2 separate regions of the Homo sapiens genome follow, and region 1 is linked to region 2. Evidence: promoter capture Hi-C in human tissues and cell types (Jung and others, 2019). All regions are on one chromosome and are shown on one strand. The core of a region is centred on a gene start or on the middle of the fragment in contact, and the rest is flanking DNA. Distances in the headings are between cores, read along the strand shown.

Region 1 (3,954 bases), core at 599-3,098, 160 kb after region 2:
CTCATGCCTGTAATCCCAGCAATTTGGGAGGCTGAGGTGGGAAGATCACAAGATCAGAAGTTCAAGACCAGCCTGGCCAACATGGTGAAACCCTGTCTCTACTAAAATAGAAAAATTAGCCAGGTGCAGTGGCTCATGCTTGTAATCTCCGCACTTTGGAGGCCGAGGTGCTGAGATCACCTGAGGTCAGGAGTTTGAGACCAGCCTGGCCAATATGGTGAAATCCCATCTCTACTAAAAAATACAAAATATAGCCGGCTGTGGTGGCATGTGCCTGTACTCCCAGCTACTGGGGAGGCTGAGGCAGGAGAATCGCTTGAACCTGGGAGGCAGATGTTGCAGTGAGCCAAGATTGCACTACTACTGCCCTCTCACCTGGGCGACAGAGTGAGACTCCATCTAAAAAAAACAAAAATTTTTTTTTCAAATATTAAAAAAAAAGGAACCCTGAATTACACCCATTTTGCTGATGAGTTGAATAAAACGAGGCTCAGGTAGGTGAAGAGACTTGCTCAAGACCATGTAGTCCTGAGCTGGATGGGAATCCAGGCTGCGTGGCCACAAAGCCCACTTCAGACTCCTGCCCTCCATCTGTAAATTGGAGATCACCCGGCTTACCTGGCTCGGCTGCTGTGAGAATTTGGTGCAATGTGTGTGCAAAGGCCCAGTCCATGGGAAGGGCTCCATCAACAGCCACTCCTGGGATCCTGGGATAGCCGGATGAGATGGAGGCCAGACAGAAAGAATGGGCTCTGGGCGCTTGCCCTGTGGCTGTCAGCGGCCTGGATGATTTGAGGCTGTTTTTGAAGAGCCCAGCCCTCCCTCAGGCTGTAAGTTGGCAAGTTGAGTCCCAGGCCCGGCCGGTGGCCTGGGGCCAGCTGGGTGGGGCAGGGAGCTGGCTGGTCACTGAGGCACCAAGCAGGGAGGAAGAGAGAGGCTGCCCCAACCTTGACCCAACCCCGCCTTGCAAGCAAGCCCCAGAGGAGGGAAAGAATGGACTCGATCTCTCGACTCCTTTTATGTAGCCATGTGCACAAGATGAATGGCCAGGGAGCTGTCAGGAGGAAGGCCTCGGCCTCTGGATCTGGGTGGTCTCCCTTCCTGTGGAATTAGCTGCACAGGCTCCCGCTCTCTTGCCTCCTCGCCAGGGTTCCCAAGTCACACCTGGTGCAGTCACAATTGCACTGAGGCCCCTGGAACCTCCTGAGGGGGTTCTTTATTAATTATTATTATTTTTTTTTGAGACGGAGTCTCACTTTGTCACCCAGGCTTGAGTGCAGTGGCGCGATCTCGGCTCGCTGCAAGCTCTGCCTCCCAGGTTCATGCCATTCTCCTGCCTCAGCCTCCCAAGGAGCTGGGACTACAGGCACCCGCCACCATGCCCAGCTGATTTTTTTTGTATTTTTTAGTGGAGACGGGGTTTCACCGTATTCGCCAGGATGGTCTCGATCTCCTGACCTTGTGATCCGCCCGCCTCGGCCTCCCAAAGTGCTGGGATTACAGGCGTGAGCCACCGCACCCGGCCTCTATTTTTTTTTTTTTTTTTTGAGACAGAGTCTTGCTCTGTCTCCCAGGTTGGGAGTGCAGTGGCATGATCTCGGCTAACTCCCAGGTTCAAGTGATTCTTGTGCCTCAGCCTCTCGAGTAGCTGGGATTATGGGCACCACCATGCCCGGTAATTTTTGTATTTTTAGTAGAGATAGTGTTTTGCCATGTTGGCCAGGCTGGTCTCGAACTCCTGGCCTCAAGTGATCCACCTGCCTCGTCCTCCCAAAGTGTTGGGATTACAGGTGTGAGCCATTGCACCTAGCCTATTTATGTATGTATGTATGTATGTATTTATTATTATTTTCTAAGACAGAGTCTCACTCTGTTGCCTAGGCTGGAATACAGTGGCGCAATCTTGACTCACTGCAACCTCTGCCTTTCAGGTTCAAGCAATTCTTTTGCCTCAGCCTCCTGAGTAGCTGGGACTACAGGCATGTGCCACCACGCCTGGCTAATTTTTATATTTTAGTAGAGATGGGGTTTCACCATGTTGGCCAGGCTAGTCTCGAACTCCTGACCTCAAGTGATACTCCTGCCTTGGCCTTCCAAAGTGCTAGGATGACAGGCGTGAGCTGCTGCACCTGGCCCTATTTATTTATTTTTGATGTAGAGTCTCGCTCTGCCACCCAGGCTAGAGTGCAGTGGTGCAATCTTGATCTTGGCTCACAGCAGTCTCCACCTCCTGGGCTCCAGCAATCCTCCCACCTCAGCCTCCCAAGTAGCTGGGTCTACAGTTGCGCACCACCACACTTGGCTAATTTTTGTATTTTTGCAGAGACCGGTTCTCACCAGATTGCCCAGGTTGGTCTTGAACTCCTGGGCTCAAGAGATCTGCCTGCATCAGTCTCCCAGAATGCTGGGATTACAGGCGTGAGCCACCGTGCCAGCCCTCTTGGGGGTTTCTCGGGCTAAGCCATTACCTCTCAGCCTCCGTGCCCCGGTGGGCTCTGAAGGAGCCTGTTTCATCCTGAGCAATGGTGGAGGCGGAGGCTGCAGAGGAGGGGTGAAGTCCTGGGGCTCTGGGGGAGACAAAGGACCCTGCTGGTGTCCCTCAGACCCGGGTTCTGGCCCCTCTGCTTCGTGTGACTTCAGACAAGTCGCTTTACCTCTGTGAGTCTGTTTCCCCAGCTGTAAAATGGGGATCATAACACCAACCTACCTCTCAGGATCCCCAAGAGGAGGAAGTAGGCGAATGTACAAGAAGGCCCCTTCCACCCAGCCTGGGCACTGCTGGTGCTCACAGGGACTCAGGAACAGTGCGTCATGGGGCGTGGGTCACCTTCTCTGGGCCCACATACCAGCTTTGCCTCTCACTGGCCGTGTTCTCTTGGAAAAATGACCTACGTTTCCTAAGTCTATGTTTCCACATCTGTAAAATGAGGATGATCCACATATGGTTGTCCCAGTATTATTCTGAGAATTAAATGAGATACTTCATTAAAGTACTTGATGCATAGGATGGACTTAATAAATTACTACGTAACGATACACTCTGGGAATATGTAAGGCCTGTGAGTGGAGAATGCCATGCCGGGGATGTTATTTGGAAGGATCCAGAATCACTAAAACAGAATTTAACAGGGAGAAGGATAAAAGTTCTCCATTAAAGTTCCAAACATGAGTTTCGTATATTTTTCCACTTCTGTGTCAGAGAAGCCACACCTCTCCCGTCACCAGCCCTCGGAACCTGCAGAAAGAGATGTCAAATGGGAAGACCTCGCATGTGCTGGCTTGTGGCATTTGCCTGTTTCTTTTCACAGCCAACGAACCGTCACTGAGCACCGTCTGTGTGCCCCGAGGTAAGGGGCCTGGGGAAGCCCCAGGAAATGATCCCGGGTCCTCATCCCTAAGGGGTTCACCCTTTGAGGCTGTTCTGCCTTCCTGGTGGAAAGTTCAGATGAACACCCTGAAATTGACCAAGTGGCTGGCTTTCTTCCACCCAGAAACACATTGGGAAATGGATATTCTAGAAGAGTTCTCCAACAACCATTTCTTGGAATTGTAAATGTCTGAGGGCTGCTGCAATACTTCAGATTATCTTGTTTTCTTGATCTGTGGAAGCCAAGATTTTAATGCTACATCTGTGTGAGTATCTTTTGATAATAAGAACCAAATGTTGTCGGTGGAAATGACTGGAAATTACACTTAGGATCAGAATGTGGGGTTTTAGATTCCCTCTTGGAAGGCAGTGCTGAGAAACAAACACAAGGGACATTTTCCCTATAAATCACTCAGGATGTTGCAACACTCAAGGCTCCTGCCTGCTCCTCTCTCCGGGCATCAGGAAGCCTGGGATGGAGCACCCTGGGCGAAGGGGTCCACTGGTCAGTAGTAAATATCCCATAGCTCAAATTAAACCTCCAGTTCCCATCTCCCCTCTAAATTCTTTCTTATTTTTTTGAGACA
Region 2 (3,983 bases), core at 1,443-3,942:
GAAGCAGTAATACCCAGTTGCAAGAGGCACCTTGCCACTGTTAGATCTTAAACTCCAGTCTCCAGTGAAAGGCACCAGTGCCCCTTGGAGAGATGGCTGAATCCAGAGCTGGGACAGGGAATGTCAAGAGGAGCCCGGGACATTTTATTGTGCCAGAAAGTAAAGAGGTTCTCAAAGAATGGTGGGAGCGTGAAAGCAGCTAGCACAGAGCTGCTGGAAGGAGCTGCCAACAGCCAGGCCTGGGAACATTTGAGCACAAAATAAATAATGGAAGTCATACATTCAGCTTGCTTTTTTTTTTTTTTTGAGACGGAGTCTCACTGTGTCACCCAGGCTGGATTACAGTGGCACGGCGCGATCTCAGCTCACTGAAACCTCCACCTCCTGGGTCCAAGAGATTCTCCTGCCTCAGCCTCCCAAGTAGCACTGATTAGAACTCACCGTCATGACCATGTCCTGCCCAAAAGGTTTAACTTGAATTTCATCAATAGGAAACCATCAGACAGATCCACATGCAGGGACTTTCTGCAAACCAGCTGGACTGGATGCTTTGCAAATGTTCACATCAGGAAAGACAGAAGCAAAACAAAACAAAAGGCTGAGAACTGTCTGATGGTTTCCTATTGATGAGATTCAAGTTAAACCTTTTGGGCGGGACATGGATGTCCAAGTAGCTGGGACTACAGGCGCCTGCCACCACGCCTGGCTAGTTTTTTGGGTTTTTTTGTATATTTAGTAGAGAAGGGGTTTCACTGTGTTGGCCAGGCTGGTCTCAAACTCCTGACCTCATGATCTGCCCACCTCGGCCTCTCAAAGTGCTGGGATTACAAGCGTGAGCCACCGCATCCAGCTGGGGAAAGATTTTTAGGGATCAAGGGCCGGGCGCGGTGGCTCACGCCTGTAATCCCAGCACTTTGGGAGGCTGAGGTGCGTGGATCACAAGGTCAGGAGATTGAGACCATCCTGGCTAACACAGCGAAACCCCGTCTCTACTAAAACAATACAAAATATCAGCCAGGCATGGTGGCAGGTGCCTGTAGTCCCAGCTACTCGGGAGGCTGAGGCAGAAGAATGGCGTGAACGTGGGAAGTGGAGCTTGCAGTGAGCCGAGATCACGCCACTGCACTCCAGCCTGGGTGACAGAGCAAGACTCCGTCCCCCCCAAAAAAAAAAAGAAAAAAAAGATTTTTAGGGAACAAGACATACATTAATCCAGAGATACCAACTTTACCAAATGATGAAATGGAACATCCCCAATAATGGGACACACTGACCTCATGTGCTTCCTTCCTCCATTCCAAATCTCCCTCATCCTACAGTGAGAATCTGGGTTCTGGTACCACCAATCCTAGGATAACCCAAAGTTGCTTCGGAATGGCTCCGCCCTCCCCACTGCCAATAACAAAGTCACTAGTGAGGTTTGGGGTTCTGTCACAGGCCTCCCAGTTCTTAGAGTGTACTCCACTAAGGAGGTACCCCTGGACAACCCAGCTCTATAATTACTCAGATCGTTTTATTCTTTTTCTGCAAGTGAGGTTATGTCATCAACGTCATACAGAGATTAATTAGTTTCTGTTGATTTTCTTTATCTTTTTTCTAAGAGACAGGGTCTGGCTCTGTTATTGCAGCTTTAATCATAGCTCAAAGTGGCATGATCATAGTTCACTGTAGCCTCGACCTCCTGGGCTCAAGCAATCCTGGGACTACAGGCATGCCCCACTAGGCTGAGCTAATTTTTTTTTTTTTTTTTTTGGTAGAGATGGGGTCTCACTATGATGCCCAGGATGGTCTCTAGCTCCTGGCCTCAAGGGATCCTCCTATCTTGACCTCCCAAAGTGTTGGGATTACAGGCATGAGCCTCCTTGCCCCTCTTCTGTTGTTTTTTTCCTATCCTTGTTGACTTACTTTTATTTCTTAAATGTAAAATTGATTTAAGGTGCATCCAGAGATGTGCACAGATTCTTGTGATGGAGGGAACCGCACAGTCATGGTGAGGAGTCCATCATAATTTTCAAACGCCCCTTTAAGAAGTAGGCATTAACACCCTGCTCCATCCCTTTGGAGGCAGCCCTGGGCTGAGCACTGGACTCCTGGGTTCCACCAGCCTCAGTGTCTCCAGGAGACCAAGCGCGGCCGGGGGTGAGTCCCTGTCCCCGCGCCCCCCACCACGCTCCAATACTTACCCCCTGCCCCACCCCCCAGCCTCCCGGGCCTTGGCTTGTACCTGTGAACCGAAGGGGTCATACTAGGCGTCATACTAGGGTCTCTGGATAGCTCCCAGGCCTGGACTTCGTTTTCCAGGATATCACCTTTACTGGTCAACCCATTTTGTTTCGCGAGTGCCCAGTGAGTGTTTGGCACGTAATAGAGCCTCCATAAATAGTTGTAGAAATTAGCGTCATTTTACAGTATGGAAACTGAGGCTCCAAGTGGGAGTGGCTTGCCCTCAAGGTCCCATTGGTGAGAGACGCTGTGGAAGGGCTGCCCTGGCCTGGGCACACAGTAGGCGCTTTGATGCGGGCTGGAGAAGGTCCTGCCCGGTGGGATTGCGCCCTGGGGCACCGCGCACGGGTCGGGGAAGCCCGGGGCAGGGCCGTATGCAAATAGCGCGCGAGGAGGCCGCGGATTGGCCAGCCCAGGCGGGGGCGGGGCGCGCCGAGGGCCCAGAGCTGGCAGGTGCCCTGGCAGGGACAGGTCTGGTGCCCGCGCCTGCTCGCTGGACCGCCCGCCCCGCGCTCTGGCGGCTCCTCCCGGGCGATGCCTCCGCTCTGGGCCCTGCTGGCCCTCGGCTGCCTGCGGTTCGGCTCGGGTAGGCGGTGAAGGGCAGGAGGGGGCTGAGCCCAGAAAGAGCGGGCAGCTCTGCCCTGGGGCGCCCGCCGCCTGGACCCTGATTCCTGGCGCTGGGGACCCAGATATTACTGTTATGAATAATAGTGATAGCCAACGTTTACGGGCCTCCTCTGTTGGGAATCCGAGGGCTCACAGATGGCTGCAGCCCTGCGATGTGTGTTGCAAGAGACCAACATGCAGGGGGGCTGCGGTAGGACAGAGAAGGGACTAGCCCCAGCCCCATGGTGACGCCTGGACGGGGGCAGATAGAGAGATATTTCGGCCGAGGAAGCAGCATGGGCAAGTTCATGGAGGGGAGACAATATTGGGCTGTCCTGGGAACTGCCAGTCCATGGGACCAGCTGGAGCCTGGGGTGAGGGGAGCCTGTGGGGGAAGGGGTGAGGCTGGAGACCGAACAAAGCAAAGCCCAGAACTTCAGGACCTCACTGCCTTTCCAGAGAGGCTGGACTTCGTCAGGGGGCGCTGGGGGACCATGGGAGGGCCATAGCCAGAGAATGAGGCAGTCAGACTTGCATGTGGGGGGAGGGCCCAGGTGAGGAAGGTGGGACGGAGGAGGGCTGGGCCGATGGCATGGAGAGATGCTTAGGAGGGGCAGTGGAGTTCTTGGCAACTGAGTGTCTGCAGCAGGGAGAGAAGGCAGCAGTTTGGCCCGACCGCTCCATTTCTGAGCAGGATGACTGGGCAGGGGGCAGTGTCTGAGACAGCTTATGCGGTGGCCCAGGGGGAGGGTGAAGCCCAGGGCCTGGCACACAACACGTGCTCAGTAACTGCAAGCAGAGTGGGTGTGGACAGTTCTGCCGGAGGTCAGTTCCCATCCTCACTGCCTCCTCCAGCTGTGAACCTGCAGCCCCAACTGGCCAGTGTGACTTTCGCCACCAACAACCCCACACTTACCACTGTGGCCTTGGAAAAGCCTCTCTGCATGTTTGACAGCAAAGAGGCCCTCACTGGCACCCACGAGGTCTACCTGTATGTCCTGGTCGACTCAGGTAAGGGTCCTGCTTCCCTCTGGCTACTCCAAAAGGGGCTCTGACCTGTCTGCAGGGAGGAGGGAAGGAGGCAGATAGAGGAACCCTCCATGCCTGTAGTCGTCTCATTAAACAGGTACTGCAGCCACAGACCTGTCCTTGCC

What was found. Contacts are between HindIII fragments. The study calls those that stand out against the background at their distance.
Region 1: a contact is called between a fragment that was not itself captured here and the fragment with the promoter of UPK3A in region 2, in 1 of the 25 tissues and cell types used here (dorsolateral prefrontal cortex).

What each region holds. Positions count from the first base shown.
Region 1 is chr22:45,447,753-45,451,706 of GRCh38, forward strand. No RefSeq gene overlaps it. Among named protein-coding and RNA genes, the nearest start is that of RIBC2, 36 kb to the left of the region's middle. The HindIII fragment of the contact is 9,220 bases long and covers 1-3,954 here.
Region 2 is chr22:45,282,257-45,286,239 of GRCh38, forward strand. UPK3A (uroplakin 3A) reads left to right here and starts at 2,693. Exons shown (of 6, transcript NM_006953.4): 1 at 2,693-2,809; 2 at 3,685-3,840. The coding sequence starts at 2,758. RefSeq lists a silencer at 2,514-2,823. The HindIII fragment of the contact is 20,192 bases long and covers 1-3,983 here.